Regions from separate parts of the Homo sapiens genome. Here regions 1, 3, 4, 5, 6 and 7 are each linked to region 2. The links are contacts of gene promoters, found by promoter capture Hi-C in blood cells and fetal thymus (Javierre and others, 2016). All regions are on one chromosome and are shown on one strand. Each heading gives the region's core, a stretch centred on a gene start or on the middle of the fragment in contact. The rest is flanking DNA. Distances are from core to core; before and after follow the strand shown.

Evidence for each region. Contacts are between HindIII fragments. The CHiCAGO score rates a contact against its expected background, and 5 or more counts as called.
Region 1: a fragment that was not itself captured here is called in contact with the fragment with the promoter of ABI1 in region 2 in 1 of 17 cell types (neutrophils); the score reaches 5.1 in neutrophils.
Region 3: a fragment that was not itself captured here is called in contact with the fragment with the promoter of ABI1 in region 2 in 3 of 17 cell types (monocytes, M0 macrophages and M2 macrophages); the score reaches 9.6 in monocytes.
Region 4: a fragment that was not itself captured here is called in contact with the fragment with the promoter of ABI1 in region 2 in 4 of 17 cell types (total CD8 T cells, fetal thymus, total B cells and 1 more); the score reaches 7.5 in total CD8 T cells.
Region 5: a fragment that was not itself captured here is called in contact with the fragment with the promoter of ABI1 in region 2 in 7 of 17 cell types (neutrophils, naive CD8 T cells, monocytes and 4 more); the score reaches 9.0 in neutrophils.
Region 6: a fragment that was not itself captured here is called in contact with the fragment with the promoter of ABI1 in region 2 in 1 of 17 cell types (M2 macrophages); the score reaches 6.8 in M2 macrophages.
Region 7: a fragment that was not itself captured here is called in contact with the fragment with the promoter of ABI1 in region 2 in 1 of 17 cell types (activated CD4 T cells); the score reaches 5.6 in activated CD4 T cells.

The regions. Positions count from the first base shown.
Region 1 is chr10:26,351,777-26,354,937 of GRCh38, reverse strand. No RefSeq gene overlaps it. Among named protein-coding and RNA genes, the nearest start is that of APBB1IP, 85 kb to the left of the region's middle. The HindIII fragment of the contact is 876 bases long and covers 1,259-2,134 here.
Region 2 is chr10:26,859,501-26,862,440 of GRCh38, reverse strand. It overlaps ABI1 (abl interactor 1), which reads left to right and starts at 1,483. Exons shown (of 11, transcript NM_001012750.3): 1 at 1,483-1,694. The coding sequence starts at 1,578. RefSeq lists an enhancer at 1,241-1,440 and silencers at 1,761-1,850, 1,961-2,110. The HindIII fragment of the contact is 3,622 bases long and covers 1-2,940 here.
Region 3 is chr10:26,378,373-26,381,613 of GRCh38, reverse strand. No RefSeq gene overlaps it. Among named protein-coding and RNA genes, the nearest start is that of APBB1IP, 58 kb to the left of the region's middle. The HindIII fragment of the contact is 1,180 bases long and covers 673-1,852 here.
Region 4 is chr10:26,463,814-26,466,887 of GRCh38, reverse strand. All of the region lies in intron 2 of APBB1IP (amyloid beta precursor protein binding family B member 1 interacting protein), which reads right to left. Among named protein-coding and RNA genes, the nearest start is that of APBB1IP, 27 kb to the right of the region's middle. RefSeq lists a silencer at 1,735-1,784. The HindIII fragment of the contact is 3,863 bases long and covers 1-3,074 here.
Region 5 is chr10:26,427,924-26,430,985 of GRCh38, reverse strand. No RefSeq gene overlaps it. Among named protein-coding and RNA genes, the nearest start is that of APBB1IP, 8.9 kb to the left of the region's middle. RefSeq lists an enhancer at 1-309. The HindIII fragment of the contact is 1,306 bases long and covers 935-2,240 here.
Region 6 is chr10:26,411,372-26,414,734 of GRCh38, reverse strand. No RefSeq gene overlaps it. Among named protein-coding and RNA genes, the nearest start is that of APBB1IP, 25 kb to the left of the region's middle. The HindIII fragment of the contact is 319 bases long and covers 1,372-1,690 here.
Region 7 is chr10:26,395,899-26,399,063 of GRCh38, reverse strand. No RefSeq gene overlaps it. Among named protein-coding and RNA genes, the nearest start is that of APBB1IP, 41 kb to the left of the region's middle. The HindIII fragment of the contact is 4,604 bases long and covers 1-3,165 here.

The DNA.
Region 1 (3,161 bases), core at 447-2,946, 510 kb after region 2:
CCTCAGCTCCCTGAGCTCCTTCCCTAAGATTCTTACGAATCAAAAGGGGACTCTTGGTCCTTTAATGAGGAGGGGTCAGCATCCCTGGAGGAAAACCAGAATGGATTTCTAGATCTCTGTCACTAATGGAAGTTGGGGGTGATGGTGGTATAATTTACATTTTTCTAAATTCCCAGGGCCAAGCAGTTCCCAAATCTGATGGACACAGTTTCTCTCCAGATGTTATTGCATTCAATACATTCAGTCATGTTATAATCAAATTGTTGGCATACGAACCAGGCCAATTTTTTATAAATGATGCTTTGGTGTGTATTTATTCTGATCCACTGTGTACTGATTTTATGTTTTATGTCTTCAGAGGACAATCCCATTTGACTGCTTCTTATGCTGTTGATATACTGATGATAGGAGTGGCTAACTTCTTGATCTTCTCAGTGGTATGCAGGGCATTCTTCTGAAATGCATCTTGACCTTTAATTAAAACAAGGTAGCCTCTGTTGGAAGCCTTCTTGGAAATCCTCCCTGACATGGTACAGTTACAGATTAGGGTGTGTCTGCAGAACCATCCCAAGAACCATATTAATTGCAACTCTGTCGAGCAACAGAATTCCATTTAGGTTGACTGAAAGCAAAAGTAAACAGGTAGCAGAAGGGAATTTACTATGTGGACACAAGGGGTCTCCTATACCCCAGGATTAGAAGTGAAGTCAGACTTAGTAAGGAACTGGAGCTAGGAACTGTCAAGCTGTCTAGACTCTCTCTGTATAACCACTGCGTCCTCCTTTCTCTCTCAGTAGTCTGACTTTTTCTCTTGCTTCTTGAGTTCAAAAGGCAGAACAGGCCACCCTACCTTCTCCAATTACATCTCCCAATCCCAGCCTTGTGGGATCCCTATCCTTCTCTTTCTGGCTCTCTAATCACAAATTCTGGGGAGAAAAAAGAATTGATAAAGCCAGTTTCATTCTGATGCCAAGTGCTTATTCAAATAGCACTGCCAGGTACTGCGCTAAGTGTCTATACATTTTACAAATTGGCTCTGTGTCAGTTTGGAAAATGAGAACGGGATTGTGATTGAGTTGCAAATTACAGGCTATTTGTGTTCTTCATGTAGTTGTGTAGTGAAGGTCATGGAAATGACTTCATTTAATGTGGCTTCATTTAATGTAGCCTTTGGATACAACATAATTCAAATCAAAGAGGCTATCTGATTGGGGTAGTTTTGTGATTTAAATAAGTCTAACAAAGCAGGAGCCAAGCTTGCAACAGTTTTGTTAGTTGTTAGAGGTATTTCACTGAGGGAAACATCAGCATAATCACTGAATTCATGCTGGGCTGACGAACAGCATCTCTCTCTCTCTCTCTCTCTCTCTCTCTCTCTCTCTCTCTCTCTTTCATTTTCGGCCTCTTCTTCTCCCTCTTGTTACTCCACACTCTACACAGCTATTTGATAAATCCTTACAGGTGCAGATGCCAGTGATGTTCTATATGACCTCTCTCAGAAAAAATGACACTTTCAAAGAGGTCCCCTGCGAAGCACAATGCTTAATCCGAAAGAGTAGCCCTCTAATGGTAAATTTACCTGCACCTTGGAAGGACACAGCAGAGGATGAAATATTTTGGAGTGTGATGGGCAGAAAATTCCATCCTAAAGCAGACTATGTAGGTGGGTGTCCAATGGACAAGACGGAAGAGAATTTGAATATGTAACTGGAGATTTCAAAGCTGTTCTTTCAAAGATTATGCTTAAGTTTGGCAAGCATCGAGTTCAAAACTCTGGAGTTCCTCCTTGTAAAACATACAGCTATATACTGTTAGCATTCAGTCTGATGAACCATTAAATGTCCATGCACACCTCCATCTTACTCTCCTTTATTTATTTAAATTTCTAGCTCTGTGTAGTGAGAATGATCCAGCTGCCACAGGTAGAAGGAGATGCTTTATCTTTCCAACAATTAATAAAATCCCTATCTGCACTAAAGGAACCCCTGAACAAGGGATCTGTTCTGAATCTTCTGGAATGGTGAGTGCAGAACTTCTTCATCACCATGACTTGCAATGAAAGTTTGATAGTCAAATTGTCATGTGCGTCCATGTGAAGAGACCACCAAACAGGCTTTGTATAAGCAATAAAGCTTTTTAATCACCTGGGTGCAGGCAGGCTGAGTCCAAAAAGAGAGTCAGCAAGGAAGATAGGGGTGGGGCAATTTTATAGGATTTGGGTGGGTAGTGGAAAATTACAGTCAAAGGGGGTTTTTCTCTTGTGGGCAGGGGCGGGGGTCACCAGGTGCTCAGTTGGGGAGCTTCTGAGCCAGAAGAAGGAATTTCACAAGGTTAATCAATCAGTTAAGGTGGCGCAGGAACAAATCACAATGGTGGAATGTCATCAGTTAAGGCAGGAATCAGCCATTTTCACTTCTTTTGTGAGTCTTCAGTTGCTTCAGGCCATCTGGATGTATACGTGCAGGTCACAGGGAATATGATGGCTTAGCTTGGGCTCAGAGGCCTGACACAAATCTCTGAATATTACTGGAAGCAGAATGCTGATTTTATCAAAATGAACAGAAATAGCACCTCATTCAAATGCAAATATACAACTTAATTTCAAATGAGTTTTTCTAAGTTGGGATATTTTCTGATCCTTTCTAAAAATGCTTCTCCTTAAAAAAGGCCACATCATTTCCCCCCAAAAAAGACAACACATTTTATTTCTTATTTCTGAATTGTTTTAAGGGAGTCATAAAATTTTCAAAGCTAAAAATCTATGCACATTTACTTTCATATTTTACCCCTGAGAAATTAAAACAATATGTCACTCCTGAATAACAATTAGTACTACCATCTGTTACTAAAGACAGATGTAGTCAATAACCTTGTGCTTTTTGGCTTCCTGATTTATAAAAATGTTTTTATTCTAAACCTAATTTTTTTTTTTGGAAGAGCGCTGAGCCTTCTGTGACTACTGTAGAAAGCCACATTTCTGTTTAAATTATAGTATTTCTACAAGTAATCTGATAAAAGAAAAGAACATGCCTATCAGATGATACTGAATTAGCTGAAATTTTAAAACTACCTTAGTTATAACAGTCAGCCCTCCAAATCCACAGATTTCATGAAATACACATAGAAAATATTTAGGAAAGAAACCTAATAAGAATAACAAT
Region 2 (2,940 bases), core at 234-2,733:
TTCCTTGATGGAGAATCTGGTGGCAAGGGGAAGTTAACGTTTTTAGTAGGAAACTGAGTTTTTCCTTTCAGAGGTCGAAGAGGGAAACTGGTTCCCTGGGGCCCTGAATAAGGCCCCAGTAAAGGCAATATTCAATAAATACCTGGTGCTGGCAATTTTTAATTTGGTTGAGTGATGTTTTTACTCCTAGTTATTTTGATTCTAAATGACTTTATGGAGATACATGAACATATGTCCAAAGTCTTTGGACAACACTTTTCATAGCTGATTATATCCGAAGCATTTAATGTTCCTGTTGAAGTGAAGAGCTTGAAATATAGGGCCTTTTGAGACTATTCCAAAGCAGGTGATAAAAACAAAACAAAACAAAAATCCAGGAGCAAAAAACGAAGGATCAGGGTGGGTGGCTCATGATTGTAATCCTAGCAGTTTGGGAGGTTGAGGCAGAAGGATTGCTTGAGGCCAGGGGTTCGAGACGAGCGAGGGCAACATAATTTGATCCCTGTCGCTATAAAAAATTAAAAAGCTCAGCCAGGTGTAGTGACCGACGCTTGTAGTCCCAGTTACTCTGGAGGCTGAGGCAGGAGGATCGCTTGACTTTAGGAGGTCTAGGCTGCAGAGACCCATGATTGTGCCCCTGTACTCCAGGCTGGGTAACAGTGAGATCCTGTCTCAAACAAGCAAACAACTCCCACCCCTAAAAAAACGTGCACATGACCTTAAAAGTGTAGGAAGATTACATGATAAGGAGAGTCAGAGAAAAGAGAAATTAGGACAGGAAAGCACTACAAGCTATGTATGTTTATTTTATAATTGAGTCTTTAAGGGTACGGAGTATTCGTACTCAACTTGTACCCCCAGTGTCTAGTACGCTGCTTGGTAAACAGCTGGCAATCAAGAAATGTTTGCTAAATTTTAAATGAATTGATGGGGGCGGAACTTCAGAAAGTAAAGCCTGACTCGCTTTATTTCTAAGAAGGCAGAGGAAGTAAAAATCTAGTTTTCCGTACTCTGTCCCCTTTTTAATCCTTCTCTGAATGGGTGTCCTTGATTCACTGACATTTCCTAATTAACCAAGTTCTGCCAAGTTTCACATGAAACTTGGGGAACCGATTTCATTCCCCCAGTATCACCCTGTGGCGCCACCTTCCGGAGCTGTGAGGAAACTCCGGACTTCCCCCCAACACCGCCCCCTCCCTCCACCCTCGGTCTCCGCTTTCTGCGCTCTGCCGCGTTGGTTTTCGGAGGTGTCTGGGCGCATGCGCTTTGGACGGGCCGCCTAGCCTAGGAGAGACTACAATTCCCAGAAGACAGTGCGAAAGAAAAAAAAAATCCCGCGGTCCGTGGGGGTGGGAGAAATAAACGCTCGCGAGAGAACGAGGTTCAGGCGGCTGCACGAAGGGGGTGGAGGGGGGCTGGAGAGAGTGAGGAGGAAGGGGAGGAGGTGCCGTCCCACAATACCAGGCGGGAGGGCGGGTAGGCGGTTTGTATCCGGGCTGTGAGGTGCTCGGAGCCTCGGCGGACCTTGCTGCCTCTGTCTCTTTAACGCGAGAGGAAGCGATGCAGAGGGGTGGAAAATGGCAGAGCTGCAGATGTTACTAGAGGAGGAGATCCCGTCTGGCAAGAGGGCGCTGATCGAGAGTTACCAGAACCTGACTCGGGTGGCAGACTACTGTGAAAACAACTACATACAGGTGAGGCGCTCTGGCGGCCGGCGGGCGCTGGCCGGGTCGAGGACCCGCCGGAGTGACCAGCCCACTGGGCGGGGTGGGGAACTGCCCTGACCTCAGCGGCTGCCACCAACCCGAGCCCCTACCGCAGCCCCAACCCCAGCCCCAACCGGGGACAGAGCGAGTGGCCGGGCTGAGGGAGTCGGGCTGCGATACAGGAAGTGGCTGTGGTGGTGGAAACCGATAGAAGGGGAGAGAGAAAATGGGCGAGGGAGCCGGGAGCCCGCCGCTGCCGCAGCCCGGCGCCCCCCTCGCGTCCGCTTCCCCCAGGGCCCGGCCACCGGGGTCGCGCGCCCCCCAGGTAGCCTCCAGTCCGCAGGGCTGGAGTCCCGGAATACCCCCGAGCTGCCGCCGCGCCGCCTCTCTGCGCCGGGAGAGGAGGTCCAGGACGGGAGAGGGGAGAGGAGAGGGCAGGGACGAGGCTGAAGCCGCAGAAGGGAGAGGACCAGCGGGGTGTGTGTTGTGTGTCGGCGGAGGGTGGGGTGGGGGCGATTATGTCAGTTTCAGCCCCCAGAGGGTGTGTCTTTTATTTATTTATTTATTTAAAAAAAATTTGTCATGAGTCACATTACACCGACCTCCCGGAGGAGAGGAGGAAGCGGGTGTGGGGAGTGAGGGAGGGCGTTTGAGAGAAGTTCATCTTAAAATTCCTTTAATTGAAGGTTTGTAAATCTGTCTGCTTGTCCATTTTCAAGTCGGGTTTTTTTTATTTTTTTCCCCCTCTCATCGTTTTCACTTCCGCCCCACCATAATGTATTCTAAGAGGTTGTTAGGGCTGCTATCATTAATTATCAAACACGAATTGTTCTTAACTCCTTGGAAAAACGGCTTACCCTCCCTTCTCCCAAAAGTTCTTGAGCTGTAGGCTTCATAAGTAACTTAAAATAGACTGGTGTCATCGCCGGTTGCTTATTTTCTGAGGTTTCTCTCTTAACAAGCTAAGTAAATGTATAGTATGTGAATCCAAATACAGAAACGAACAGAGGTAGCCTCTGAACTACAACGTAAAAATATCTGTTATTGTAAATTAGAAAACTCTTGGGACTTTGTGACAGATGCTTGTTTGTTCGTTTCTCTTTGGATGATTGGAAGTGAATTGTGTGTGGTAGTTTGTTTTGAAGATCTTTAACTGTGTAAACCAACAGTTTGCGCTAGAAACAAAGTAGCACAGTCCTTTGTATAAATATAAAGGCACCAGGAATGCTCTTGC
Region 3 (3,241 bases), core at 13-2,512, 480 kb after region 2:
GATCCTTAGGTAGTATGTGGACTCAGAGGAGAAGGGCCTTGGTGGATTAGTAGTAATAATGGCATTTGGGCTCAGTGTCTGTCTGTCATGAGCTATCTGGTGGCAACAATGAAAATGGCTTGGTTACAATTAGTCAAGTTGTGTTTAATATAAGATAACTTGATTGAGAAAATTAAGTATTTTCTCATGTTATTTACTTTCTGCTTTCCCTCCCACTAGAATGAAAGCTCAATGAAGGCAGGTTTTTATCTATTTTAATCACTGTGGAGTCCAGTACCCAGTCAGCATCTGGTATGTGGGAGGTACCTGATAAATATCTGTAGAATATGAATGAACTGTTTCTGTCTGGCAGGGCTTCAAATCTACATTTATTCTCTTCTGATGTTAGACTACAACTTTAACGTCATTCTAGTGATCTGACCTAGAGGGATGTCTAGGCATCGGGGCCAGCCAGGTCCCTCAGGAACTTATATCATCCCTGGGAAGAAAAGACAGTGAAAGAGGAGGAGGAGGGAGGGAGGGGGATTGTTTTGAAGTGACTGAGTATTTACCCAAAGTTTCAAACTGGAAGTGACCATTTTTACCTTGAATTGGCAAGCGCATTTTCAGTGACTAAGCTAAAAAGGCTTTGTATTATCTCACTTATACATGCTGTGTAGCTAAGAGGAAGCTTTCAGATAGGCCTAGGGATGTTACCCCCACCCCTTCCCACCGGATGCAGAGTAATGATTCCCTGGAAATTCTCCGAGAAAGCAGAGCAGAAGCCAGCACAACATTGTGACTTGGCACCATCAGTTTTCTCAAGCACTTTTTTCTTATCAACAACAGAAAAAAGCGCAGTATTCAAGTCCTGGTAGGTTTTTCTTAACTTTTCTCTGTCTGGATTTGCTTGCAGAAATATAATCTCCAACTCTTCCAAACCCTACGACTTCTTTACGCCTTCTATCTAAATTCTTCTTTTTTTCTAATATATTTTAATACTTTCTGCAAGCAAGGTTGTTTATAGACCACTTGTTCTTTTAAATATTTTATTTCCTCTCACATAAATGGTAGTAAATCTTTTAATCTAACTATGAACTATTTTCTCAAAAGTTATTTAAAAGTATAGATGCTATGCATATTATTTCCTTTCTAAATAGGTGGCTTCCAGTGCCTGGGTGTTGCTGAGAAAGATGCTATACTGGGATTGGGTGGTGGTGGCTATTTCTTCAATAAAGAAGTGCAAGAATGCCAGACTTGTCAGGCATGGCTTGTTCAGAACCTGGTGGAAATCAGCTTGCCAAGACCTGGGCTGCAGATGTTGAGTGACCCTCAGCCAGGTCTTCTTCTGCTTAAACCTATCCTGGGCTAAAACTCAAAGTAAAAGGAGAGGAAGCTGGTTCTGTAGCATCCAGTGAGGATGGCATTCAGGCAATGCTGTTTACTATGGGCTGACCTCAATTATGCTGTAAAACACAACTGCAGAAACTCTCTCTAGTTCTCCTTAAATTCAAATTACAGTGCGGAAGTATCTGAGCTCAGTGGAGCTGGGAATGAGCCCCCTAGGAGGAGGTACTCTTGGAGCACTGGTGTCAGCAGCTTGCCCAAGTGAGGCCTGGTCATGTCCTCAAAGTAAGCCTCAGAAGTCCTCATCAGCTTTGCAGCCAAAGCAAAGACTACCATTGGTATGATCTTCACATACCTATTCAGCTTGTTTTGGATGTCTCATGACATAGAGCAGTGGCCACGAATGCACAGATTTCAACAGCAATGCAGTGTCAGTAACTGTCATCCTAGTTTAAAATGAACCATATCTTATCCACACATGACCAGCCTATTCCATGTTGGGAGGGCCGTGTGGTTCATGGAAGCTTACCAATAACAAGTTTGTTTTTAACCAGATTTTCTATTCCATGGGTGCCTCTGGTGGCCATGAAGGGTTTCCCTTGATCTCTTATATCAGCAAGAATGGTACAAATGTAAAACTGATGAATGTATGCAATCAGGTATCAATTACTCAGCCACAGTACTCTCTACTTTTGGACCAGTTTGGGGTCCAGGCCAGAGAGCTGATGGACGTTGAGATTCTCTCCCCTGCCGAGTGTCTTGTGTGCTGTTTTGGAGACAGCTCTGACGTGAGCATGTTTAATCTCCTCTGGATCCCATCAGCAATTTCTATGACTCTTTTAGCCACTGTTTCCAGGACAGAATTACCTACTGGACTATGTCCTGACAAATTATTGTGTTTCAATCTACTTATCTACTTAAATCTCAAGAGAAACAGACACATCTGGTCTGTTCTGGTTGATTTGCTTAGAAGTATGTTAGGTTTGCTGCAAACGGTGTTGTTAACATAGCTGATCCACTAGCGTAATATAGTTAACATTGCCTTAAATCAGTTGGCTCATGATGATATCCAGCCAGTTGCAATTGCGCAGCAAATGTGGTCAGATGCCCAAGGGAAGCCTGGAAGATGATGTAAGTCTTCTTTCTTCTTTTGAGACTCACAGCTGCACCATGATCACTGGTTTTCCTGGTTGTGTTCTTGGAAGAACCTATCAGTTTGCTCAAGACATGGGACTAGCATGTCTATTATACGGATTGCTACCCAATGTCCTTGGAAACTAGTAAAACCCTACTGAAATATTTTGAATTCTCCCGAAAGAGCACTACCCAGTGTTTACATATTGTGAAATCAACACTTAATAGGACTGGGCTTTTGAAATATATTTGAGTCATTGTCAGTGGGATCAACTCCATAAAAAGAAGACCAGTCTTTTTAAAAAAACCTATACAAAATATAGTCTTATTTCCTGAGAATTACAGCTAAAGAGATTTGGATTAAACATAAGCTCTAACTTCAACTAGTACAGTAAATTCAGGACTTTCTTACATTTACTGAACAAAAAAAAGTTACTAAATAAATGCCACAGAAATTATGTACACCTAACTTTGAGTCAAGCCAACATCTACTTGTATTTGTTTAAGCAAAGCTCATAAGAACACTTTAGCTGTAAGACATGTGGATACTTCTCACTTGTTCAGTTAACTATGATATTAATAAAAATGATAAGGCTTTTTATAAACTAAAGTTGTATTTACCAATGAAGTTCAACATGTAAATGCTGAAATGATTGATATTTGTTATGCTTTTATTTACTTTTTATCCCATTTATTTATACTCTCAATCTTTCTCTACTTTTTAAGAGTATTTTGGGCTTTCTTTCAAATATTTGGTTATATTTTATTATTTGCTTATTCA
Region 4 (3,074 bases), core at 142-2,641, 400 kb after region 2:
CATAACTCAATGCAGCTTCAAACTCCTGGGCTCAAGCAATCTTCCCACTTCAGTATCCTGAGTAGCTGGGGCTACAGGTATGCGCCACCATGCCTGGCTAATTTTTAAATTTTTTGTAGGGACGAGGTCTCACTACGTTGCCCAAGCTGGGCTCCACCCACTGGCCTCAAGCAATCCTCCCATTTCAGCCTCCTGAGTAGCTGGGACTACAGGTATGTACCACCATGCCTGGCTAATCTTTAAATTTTTTGTGGGGCCGAGTTCTTGCTATGTTGCGCAGGCTGGTCTTGACCTCCTGGCCTCAAGTGATCTTCCCACCTCGGCCACCCAAAGTGCTGGGATTATAGGTGTGAGCCACTGTATCCAGCCAACTGGATAACTTCTTGAAGCAAATATTCACTTAATTCCTGTTGGATGATGAAAAACTTTCTTTCTTTACTCATATTCAAGAAACATACTCACAGTGTAATGATAATGATGGTGATGGGCCTCCTATTCTTTGACACTTCTCCCATTAAGAAGTGGGGTCTGTGTCCCATCGCCTTGAACTTGACCAGCCTTGTGATGGCTGTGGTGGATGCCACCATGTGACTCTGGAAGTCCCCCCATCAAAAGCCACCTATCTGGGCCTCTCAGAATATTCATTCTCCAGACATTCCTTCTGGAAGCCCAGCTGCCTCGATAGTAGAAGCCCAGGACACCCGGAGGGGCTGTAGAAGGGGATCTCATCACTGCCAGTCCTAGCTCAGCCCAGGGACCAGGAAAGAGAGTGAAAAACCCTCCAGATGAGCCCAGTTTCCTGCTTTTTGGGTCACCCCCAACTGCTCAAGTCTTCCCAGCTGAGGTCACAGACATCATGGAGCTGATACAAGCTAGCCCTGCTGTGGACTGTCGGAATTCCTGACCCACAGAACCTGCAGCCATAATAAAATGGTCTGCTTTACACCTCTAAGTTTGGGGTGGTTCGTTGAGCAGAAATTGATAAGTGTAACAAATTATCCTAATACCTACCATTTCCAGGGCACCTGCATCTGGCAATATATTATGCTTTAGAGGTTATGCCTCTCATCCTTTCCACTTCTCTGCAAAATATATTATCCTCATTGTGCAAGTGAAGAAATGAAGGCTCTGAGAAGATAGGTATCACACAAGGACACACATCTGGTGAATGACATGTTTATGTCAAAATTCAGTGCTTAAACATGCCCAAAATGTCAGTCTTTAGTCACCTAAAAATGATAATTACTAAGTGATGAACATTAACAATTAATAATGACATAATTATAATTTTTTCTTTAAAAATGTAAATATCTTTTCTATGGAGAATTTGAGCATTGTATCTACCCATCAGAAGGTGCAAAAATCATTAATTTATTATTAATTACAATGAGTAATTATTATATCATTATGACACATAATATATAAAATGTCAGCATTATTACTAATTTATTTTCTTTTGCCATAATGATGAGATGTTTGTCACGAAAAAAATAGAAATTTGTGTCCTTGAATATGTCAACTAGCTAGACATGTACCTGTCTACAGAGTGTCACAAACAGCAAACTAGTTAAGATCTGAGCACATTCATGAAGCAATGAAGGGTGCCTGTCAATTCAGTGGACATCTGATCACATTTTATGCTCTACATGAATTTCTTCAATTTCTTTTTGATGAATACTGACACACACTTTCCTATGGGTAGTTTTTTCATATATGGAAAATGACAGCCTTTTAATTTAATCATAGTTTTCTCTGCACAGTCTACATGGGAATCACGCCTGGTCTGCAGCTACTGTATTTTTCATTTCTCTCTTACAGCTGTGCGAGAAAGCACATGTCTAAAATGGAAATAATGTCTTTGCAAACAGAGAATGCCCCAGAGTTCTCTGTTGGTTTTGCTTAGACCACAAAAGTGAATTCTCTATTTAATTCATATATCAATAAAATAAAAACAGAGAATAAGGAACTTGGATTTATCCCTGTTTGTCCTTCAGATGGTACCTGTTGGGGCCCTGCTGTATCATCAGAAAACTTATTAGGTGTGAATGTGGTAACTGAATGAGTCAAACTCAGGTTCAATGCTAACTACTGCATGATGTTGAGTAACTTACTTAACTTGGTTCAGCCTCAGTTTTTTCATCTGTAAAACAGGGCTGGGAAAATTCATAAAATTATTATGGTCTGGGCATGGTGGCTCACGCCTGTAATCCCAGAACTTTGGGAACCTAAGGTGGGAGGATCTCTTGAGGCCAGGAGTTTGAGACCAGCCTGGGCAACACAACAAGAACCTGTCTCCACACACACATACAAGTAATAATAATTAGTTGGGCATGGTATCGTGTTCCTGTGGTCCCAGCTACTTAGCAGGTTGAGGTGGGAGGATCACTTGAGCCTGGGAATCTGAGGCTGCAATGGACCATGATTGTGCCACTGCACTCCAGCCTGGGTAACAGAGTGGGACCTTGTCTCAAAAAATAAAATAAAATAAATTTGTCACGAGGACTAAATGAGCACAGTCAGGCCTGGGCACAGCAACTGGTACATAGCGGTGTTTGCATATAGGTGGGTATTAATACATTTAAAATGTACTGAAAACTAGTTCCAAATAGTGGGGGTGACTATATACTGTCTCCTAAAATTCCAATGAAATGACTTTATAACAGTCTGGAAAGCATGGAAGGATGGTATGAGTAGATCAAAATGTTGAGAAACTTCTGGAAGATGCTACAGAGAAGGGACTGTAGATACTGAGTAACTAAAGCAAAAAATGTGGAGTCCAGTATGGATCTAGAGGAGGGCTGCTGAAGACAGAGCCAAGACAGACACCCAAGCTCCAGGTCAGCAAGGATGGGAATCCAGGGACAACCAACCAGAGGAATCACTATTTAAAATGTTATGGTCCTGTTCTCACTCATAAGTGGGAGTTGAATAATGAGAACACATAGACACAGGGAAGGGAATATCACACACCAGGGCCTGTCCGGGGTTGGGGGCAAGTGGCGGGGAACATTAGGACAAATACCTAATGCATGTGGGGCTTAAAACCTAGATGATGGGTTGATAGGTGCAGCAAA
Region 5 (3,062 bases), core at 338-2,837, 430 kb after region 2:
ATTTATGATTTGCAAGTAGCAGTGAGGAGCATAGAGAACCATAAACTCACCTTCCGAACTTAAGGTGGCTGGAATTTAAGAGAATAAACCACTTTCTTTTGAGAAAGCTGCAGTGGAAATGGTGCCCTCAGGGCACAGTTAAAGCCTGAGGTTAGCAGAACACTCCAGAAATAGCTTCAAGATACAGGAGTGGCAAGAAAGAGTTTGGGAGGTGGGGAAGAGAATGACCCATGGGGCCATGAACACAGAAGAACAGCCCATCATGGAGACGATGGTGTGGGGGAAAACCCCCCCAGGTGGCATTCTCTTTGGACAGTGACCAATGAAAACAGACTTCAGTCAGAAGCAGTGGCTCACGTCTGTAATCCCAGCACTTTGGGAGGCCAAGACAGCCAGATCACTTGAGGTCAGGAGTTTGAGACCAGCCTTGCCAACACGGTGAAACCCCGTCTCTACTAAAAATACAAAAATTAGCCAGGCATGGTGGCGCATGCCTGTAATCCCAGCTACTCAGGAGGCTGAGGCAGGAGAATCCCTTGAGCTGGGGAGGCGGAGATTGCAGTGAGCCGAGATTGTGCCACTGCACTCCAGCCTGTGTGACACAACAAGACTCTGTCTCAAGAAAATAAAAGCAGAATTCCTCAGGTATTTCGGAAGAAGATGGTTAGTGGCTAAAAGATGTGTGTTATAGAACTGTAAAGAAACTCAGTTTACACTGAGTTGGATTTGACTGTGTCTCACTACCTCACTCTGTTGGCAAGCCCATCAAATCCAACATGTATTCTGGCCAATCTCTTCCTGACCAAAGTACTTTCACCTTCTGTAAGGGGACCCGGGTTGACTTGAAGTCAGAATCCTGCTAGCTTTTTCTTTTTCTTTCTGTCATTCTTTTTTTTCACAGGTAATTTTCTTTAGTTTAGCATTTTATAAAGCTTTGTCTATTTATTTTATTTGACTTGCCCTCAATTGTAGGGGATATTAGTTTCTGATTTAAATATCTAGCTTATTTTTAAAAATCTAACTTTTATGCCATCTGTAGTAGACTGTATTTTCCAAAGCTAGTCATGGCCATATCTTCCTTCCCCATTAAGAGGTAGGATCCATTTCTCTCCCTCTCCCTTGAATGTACTTTGACACATAGAATAGAACAGAAGTGATGGTGAACATAGTACTTAAATCCTGCCTCTTCTGTCCTTGAGCAGTCATGAAGAAGTCCTGGCTACTGTGTCGGCAATGAAGCCACATGGTGGGGCATGGAGGCATCAGATGTGAAGTGAAGACACCATTTTCACTGCCCAGACCCAGGAAAACTTCAGATGATTCCAGCGCCAGCTGTCCTCTAAATACAACTGCTTGAGAGACCAAGGGAGAACCACTGCGCTGAGCCTCATATCCCTGAAAGATGATGATAAATGGCTGTCTTAAGCCTCTAAGTCAATGGTCTCCCAGGGACTAAGTTCATGGCACCAGGGACTGGGTTCGTGGAAGACAATTTTTCCACAGATTGGTGGGGGGGATGGTTTCAGGATGATTCGAATGCATTACATTGATTGTGCATTTTATTTTTATTATTATTACATTGTAATATATAATGAAATAATTATACAACTCACCATAATGTAGAATCAGTGGGAGCCCTGGGCTTGTTTTCCTGCAACTAGATGGTCCCATCTGGGGGTGATGAGAGACAGTGACAGATCATCAGACATTAGATTCTCATTAGGAGCTCACAACCTAGATCCCTCACATGCACAGTTCACAAGAGGGTTTGTGCTCGTATGAGAATCTAATGCTGCTGCTGATCTGACAGGAGGTGGAACTCAGGCAGTAATGCAAGTGATATGGTTTGGCTGTGTCCCCACCCAAATCTCATCTTGAATTGTAGCTCCCACAATCCCCACATGTCATGGGAGGGACCTGGTAGAAGGTAATTGAATCATGCAGGTGGGTCTTTCCTGTGCTGTTTTCTCATGATAGTGAATAAGTCTCACGAGATCTGATGGTTTTATAAAGGGCAGCTCCCCTGCAGACGCTCTCTTGCCTGCCACCGTGTGAGACGTGCCTTTGCTCTTCTTTTCCCTTCTGCCATGATCGTGAGGCTTCCCCAGCCATGTGGAACTGCGAGTCCATTAAACCTCTTTTTCTTTATAAATTACCCGTCTCAGGTATTTCTTAATGGCAGCATGAAAATGGACTAATACAGCGAGTGATGAGGGGCAGCTGTAAATACAAATGAAGCTTCACTTGCTTATCCACTGCTCACCTCCTACTGTGTGGCCTGGTTCTTAAGAGGCCACGGACTGGTACCAGTCCATGGCCTGGGGCTTGGGGACCCCTGCTCTAAGTGTTGGTTTCTTCACAGCAGTAAACACCCAAGACACCATCTTGGGTATCTGTGCTTCTCATTTTTTCTGTCACAGTCAAGTTTCAATGCTTTAACTTTTTAAATATTATAAACTGGCAATGAAAAATAACTCTGCTCATGATTTCTATTTTAACCATAACAGGTATATATAATTAGTATATTTTTACTAATTATATATGTCACATATAGTGAATATATTTTCTCTTGCCTGTTAACAAGATCCTCCCTCTACCTGCCTCCTTACCTGCTACTGGTCCCTGGCCTTTGTTTGAAGCCAACTCCCTTCTCTCCTACACTCCAGTGGTACTCAGCAGGAGGAGAACCAGAAAGGAAAGGATGAAGACCAGCAGCAGAAAGAGAGGAGTGAAGAAGACATGAGAGAGTTCAAGAAGGCTTAGGAGAGAATCTTTGGTGGGAAGCTAAGAGCAAGGCAAGGAGAAAAAGGTTTGAGGGAAACTGCAGGATATGAGAAGGGTGGAGTTGAGAAGAAAAGGAGGAAGGGGGTTTTAAGAAATGTGGACTTGGTCTGAAATTAAATTGGCTGCTGGTTTCTTTGCACTGACACTGCACAGGGGCTATGCCCTTGGGAGGGGGCCCAGTGTTAGTCAGGGTACTAAATAAGCATGAAATTCGTGAAACTCTGAGATATACATTTGATGCTTGAACAGGGCAGGGGTTAGGTGAACTGACCTCTGCG
Region 6 (3,363 bases), core at 282-2,781, 450 kb after region 2:
TTTATTTAGAGATGGAGTCTCGCTGTGTTGCCCAGGCTGGAGTGCAATGGTGCGATCTTGGCTCACTGCAACCTCCATCTCCCAGGTTCAAGTGATTCTCCTGCCTCAGTCTCCCAGGTAGCTGGGATTACAGGCGCCTGCCACCATGCCCAGCTAATTTTGTATTTTCAGTAGAGATGGGGTTTTACCATGTTAGTCAGGCTGGCCTCTAACTCCTGACCTCAGGTGATCCACCTACCTCGTCTTCTCAAAGTGCTGGAATTACTGGTGTGAGCCACCACACCTGGCCCAGACATACACTTTAAATGAGAAACTTTTCTCTTGTTTACGTTAGTCTAGAATTCCCTTCTACCCTCTAACCTTTAGTCTATTTCTCTGCCTTCCTCTCCTCTCTCCCTACCTTCTCTCCTTCCTCCCACCCTCTCCTTCTTCATTCCCTCCCATCTTTGCCAAGATTAAAGAAGGAATCTGGTCAAAGTGGAAAACTCCATATGAAAAAATGAATTTCAAGCACAGAAAAATATGTGGTAGTAGATATTTTCAATGTTAACCATAAATGATATTAGAAGGTGTTGGTGTAATTGAATGACCAAGCAGATCCTACAAAAGCTACCTCAGCTACTTCTAATTTGGTTTGCTTTATTCAGTTTTATATCCTACAACTTCAGGTAAAAGTATAAAATAATTCATTACTAAAAATTTAACTTTTTAGCTAGACCCATATAGAAATATTTCTCCACTTTTTAATTGTAATTTGTTCTCAATGAAACCATATTGTTGTTCTCTCCTGGAGCCACATTTACAATTAGTCAATGAGATTATATTTAGTAAAATCCTCGTTTCTGTCAACAGTTCTCCATCATTTCAGCTTTCATTTTTTTAAAACCCCAACTGATTCTAAGTTATTTCTGTTATACTTTCAAAAGGGATCTTAATCAAATTTTTTCAGACTATCTTTCATGGTGATATAATTCTCTTTCATTTGAATCTTATGAAGTTAATCCCAGCAAACCTCCTTGGTCTTAGCACCTCTAAGTGCCTTGATTTCAGCTCTCAGTGTCTTTTCTTCATTATTCTAGACACACAGGAGAAACACGTCATGCTGGGGCTTTCCACGTCATGTTGGGGCTTGGGGACTGTGAATGGCATTTTCCAGCCCACTGGCTTCAGTTTGCCATGCAACTATATTTACCAGCTGTGAGGGTGTGGGGGACACTGGCATCCTCCAAGGGCATCCAGATGAGCATCAGGGTATGAGTCTACCTGACTCAGAACTCTGATCCCTGCAGACTTGGCCAAAAGGCTGGGAAATCCATGCCAACTTCCCTTTCTGCTCCTCTTCTCTCAAAGGCTCTCCTCCCATCCCAAGCTTTGATTGGAGGCTGAACGTATAGGTGGGAAAAATGAATTCTGCTCAATTGCATATATTTCAAATCCATTGTCTTCTTCCTTAACACAGAATCTTGGATAATGTGTCCAGCTAGCAGGTCTGTATCCCAGCCTCCCTTGTAGCTACTTGCAACCATGTCAATAAATTTTGGCCCAAAGAGAGATAAGTGAAAGTATTATTTGGAACTTTCAGGAAGTGCCCTTGAAGTGTGCCTTTTTTCATATCCTCTTTCCCGCTGGTTGGAATGCAAGCCCAATTATTGCCCTCTTGGACCATGAGATGACCTTGAATTTAGAAGCTTTGGACATCAGAGCAGCAAAGTGGAAGATGCCTGGGCATTTGAAGGCTCTGTGGAATAGCCTCATTAGCCCTGGACTAGCTACTTGTAGATTGTTTGTATGTGAGGGAATCAACCCTTGTGTGATTAAATCTCTAATTTTAAGATCTCTGTTACACACAAACACGACTGCTATCTAATATACCCAGGGAACTTCATTTTTTAAGCTTAAGGGACAAGAATTTTCTAATCTTGATTATATATACTTGCAGATAACTTGTATCTGACACCTGGATCTTGACTTTTGAATCTTACAAGCTAAGATCTTGGGTCCCCAGATTTACTGGGACAGCCCTGCTGTGTTATCTTTCCCTGGATGTCCACAAGAAATCTTCAGGAAAGATCTATGTCACTTGTCAAGGTGTTTGGGTGGCAGAGTATGTTTCTTTTGAATTGTACTGGAAGCAACCATGAAGCAAGGAAAAGCAGCTCCTATATATGCAAGTTAACAGAGTCTTTGCACAGTGAAGCTGCGAGTCTCATGTACTTGGCTTGTTATTCATTGCATCTATATGTTTAGATCTGTGCTAAAGGATCTTGACTGACATCTTGAAAGTAAATGTTCTCTCTTCTTTGGCAAGTGAACTTAATGATTCTAGTTTGTAGCTAAAAAGTCATTATCTTTAAAGAGCCATTCTTGTCAAATGTGGGTAAATGATGAAATAAATGTGATATTATAGCCTCTTGGTATGTGATGCTTTCTATCTAAGCAGAACTCAACAACATGTGTTACTATAACATTCAGTTGAAGTAATTTATCACGTAAACTGAAAGGAAAGTCACTAAATAGAATAAGGTATAACCTACATTAGAGTGTTACATTGTTATTTGCACATTATTTTATTGTCTGAGACTAGGTCTTGCTCTGTCACCCACAGCACTGCACTGGAATGTAGTGGTGCAAATATAGCTCACTGCAGCCTCCACCTCCTGGGCTCAAGCGATCTTCCCACTTCACCCTTCCAAGTAGCTGGGACCACAGATACACACCACCATGCCCAGCCAATCTTTAAATTTTTTTGTAGAGATGGAGTCTCACCTTGTTGCTCAGGCTTGTCTCAAACTCCTGGGCTCAAGTGATCCTCCTTGCTCGGTCTCCCAAAGTGCTGGGATTATAGGTGTAAGCCACCGTACCTGACCTATTTACACTTTTAGTATATGGTAACTACAAAGATTAGCTGAGATAACACATCTATATAAAACACTTAGTAGGTACCCAAATACTTGCTAAATAATGACACCCCAAAATACAGTCTACTCTTTCCAGAGGGAAGATCCTTTTATTTACAAAACGATATTTTCAATCCTTAATTCTGTAACACTTCCTTTATGCCAATCTTTCACTTTCTCCTGGGAATCCTGGTTGCTCTTGCTCAGTGGTCACAACAATCCAGAGATGAGAGCTAATGGGGAGCCACAAAGAGTGGAGTTTCAGCAGCTCCTTCTGCAGTGACATCCTGGTGATAACAAGCATGTATGGCCACTACAGAGTCCCCTGTGGTATAGCTTTGAGTGAGTTTACTTTCACTGACTGCTAAGAAAGAAATTTACAGTTTAAAAAATGTTTAGTAGGGTTTTAATTTAAACTTTAGTAGAGACAATACATAATTTCCATCTATTTCTTTCTTTTTTAAAA
Region 7 (3,165 bases), core at 641-3,140, 460 kb after region 2:
AGAGGCTGAGGCAGGAGGATCGCTTGAGTTAAGAGTTCGAAGCTGCAGCAAGTTATGATTGTGCCTATGCATTCCAGCCTGGGTGACAGGGTCAGACCCTTTCGAGCGGGGGTGGTGGGTGGGCAGAGAATAGAGAATGCATGTTTATAAAAGGAGGTACTTAAAAGGGATAGGGAGATGGTGCATACGGGCAGAAAAGGATGAATTCTGGAGCTCTGGGGAAAAGAGTGAGGCCAAACCTTGCTAATGAGGACAAAGGCAGGAATGAACATAGGTACAGATGCCTTTGCAATGGCTGAATGCTGAGGGAGTTGGGACCTGATGAATGAGGAGGATGCTGAGAGGTAAGAGGTTTCAAAAAGCTGCTGTGGAGAACCACATAGAAAACTGGGAGTGGGGACTTAGAAGGGCCCAGTGGTTGTGATAGTTTGCTGAGAATGATGGTTTCCAGCTTCATCCATGTCCCTACAAATGACATGAGCACATCCTTTTTTATGGCTGCATAGTATTCCATTAACTATCGCAAGGACAAGAAACCAAACACCATATGTTCCCACTCATAGGTGGGAATTGAACAGTGAGAACACTTGGACACAGGAAGGAGAACATCACACACCAGGGCCTGTCATGGGGTTGGGGGAGTGGGGAGGGATAGCATTAGGAGGTATACCTAAAGTAAATGACGAGTTAATGGGTGCAGCACACCAACATGGCATATGTATACATATGTAACAAACCTACACGTTGTGCACATGTACCCTAGAACTTAAAGTATAAAAAAAAAAAAAAAGAAGGGTCCAGTGGATGTGGAAACTGAATGATGACTGGCACCTGTGTGAGTGGCTGTGTGCTCTGCAGCCCCGGGGGTGCATTTGCTTAGGGGCTCATGGAGAGGACGGAGGGCTGAGGGATTTGAGAATTTCAGGAGGAGTGATGCAGACATGATGGCTGATGGGGTTTGCAGGATGAAGTAAAGAGAAGAGGGAGCTGACAGGTTGAGAGACGGCACAGACACTTGGTGCGTCCCAAGGGAATATCATCACCTCTAATCAGCATGGCTTTTACTGTCAGCCTCCTACACTGTAAAGTCCTGGAGGCCAAGGATTCTTATTTTGAAAGGATTCTTATTTTGTGAGAACTAATAGTTTATAAGATGAATAATACTTACCTTAAATGGTTATCATAAGGTAGGGATAAGAATGCACACAAGAATATTTGGCATGGGGTCTCAGAGGTGTTAAATAAATGTTATTTGAATCAGAATCTGAATGAGGGTGGGGCACGGTGGCTCATGCCTGTAATCCCAACACTTTGGGAGGCCGAGTCAGGCAGATCAACTGAGGTCAGGAGTTCAAGACCAGCCTGGCCAACATGGTAAAACCCCATCTCTACTAAAAATACACAAATTAGCAGGGTGTGGTGGCAGGCACCTGTAATCCCAGCTACTCGGGAGGCTGAGACAGGAGAATCATTTGAATCTGGGAGGCAGAGGTTGCAGTGAGCCAAGATCATTCCACTGCACTCCAGCCTGGGCAATGGAGCCAGACTCTGCCACAGAAAAAAAAAGAAAGAAAGAAAAAAGAAAAAGGGAAAAGAAAAAAAGAATCTGAAAGAGTAGCTTTCAGGATAATTCAGAGCTTGGTGATTTTTCAGTACAGGAAAAAAACCCAGTATAAATAAGAGGAAATGATAAGAAGTGATATCAGTAAGCAGGGAATTAGAATAAGAAGACCCAGGTGTTTTGTTTTTTTTTTAATATACTTTAAGTTCTAGGGTACATGTGCACAACGTGCAGGTTTGTTACATAGGTATGCATGTGCCATGTTGGTTGGCTGTACCGATTAACTCATAATTTACGTTAGGTATATCTCCTAATGTTATCCCTCTCCCCTCCCCCTACCCCACGACAGGCCCCAGTGTGTGATGTTCCCCACCCTGTGTCCAAGTGTTCTCATTTTTCAATTCCTACCTATGAGTGAGAACTTGCAGTGTTTGGTGTTCTGTCCTTGGGATAGTTTGCTCAGAATGATGGTTTCCATCTTCATCCATGTCCCTACAAAGGACATGAACTCATCCTTTTTTATGGCTGCATAGTATTCCATGGTGTATATGTGCGACATTTTCTTAATCCATTTTATCACTGATGGACATTTGGGTTGTTTCCAAGTCTTTGCTATTGTGAATAGTGCCGCTATAAACATACGTGTGCATGTGTCTTCATAGCAGCATGATGTATAATCCTTTGGGTATATACTCAGTAATGGGATGGCTGGGTCAAATGGTATTTCTACTTGTAGATCCTTGAGGAATCGCCACACTGTCTTCCACAATGGTTGAACTAGTTTACAGTCCGACCAACAGTGTAAAATTGTTCCTATTTCTCCACATCCTCTCCAGCACCTGTTGTTTCCTGACTATTTAATGATCACCATTCTAACTGGTGAAGAAGACCCAGGTTTTGGTGCCTGAAGTCCAGTTTGGAATCAGCTCTGCCAACTGTAACCTGGCTCAAGTTATGAGATCTTGTTGAGGTTCTTAGTAGCCCTGAATGGGTAATTCACACTTATATTACAAAGGTGTGTGACAAACTAAATTACGGTGTAATTTGTAAACTGGGCAGTACAATAACAGATTAAATGAAAACACAGAATAGTTAAGATAGAATCTACATTGAACATCAATCTACATTTACTCTGCTCCCAACTTACAGAAGGACATAGTTTGCCTCCACTACATTTCCTCATTCTGGCCTCAGGTGACAGAGCACGGTGTTTAGCAAGTAGCAGCTTTTTAAAAAATTTTCCTCAAAGGATAAAGCAAATGTAGTGTAAGCTGGATATTTATTTATAACCCTCCTAAGCAACTAAAAATTAGGCAACATTGAGAGAAAGGATGATATTCTAGAAAAAATTCAGACTTTAGATCCTGATAGAACTGAGTTCAGATTCAGACAGATCAGGGTTTGAGTTCCAGAACTTCCACATAATAGGTGTTTGGACAAATTATTAATTGAAAGTTCATTTTCTTTACAAAGTAGGGATAATAATAGCTGTCTGCTAAAGCTATTATTCTGAAAAAGTCAGATAGTATACTATATATAAATTAGCACAGTGCCCTGCACATAGGAAGCATAATACACAATAAATGGCCGGGTGCAGTGGCTCA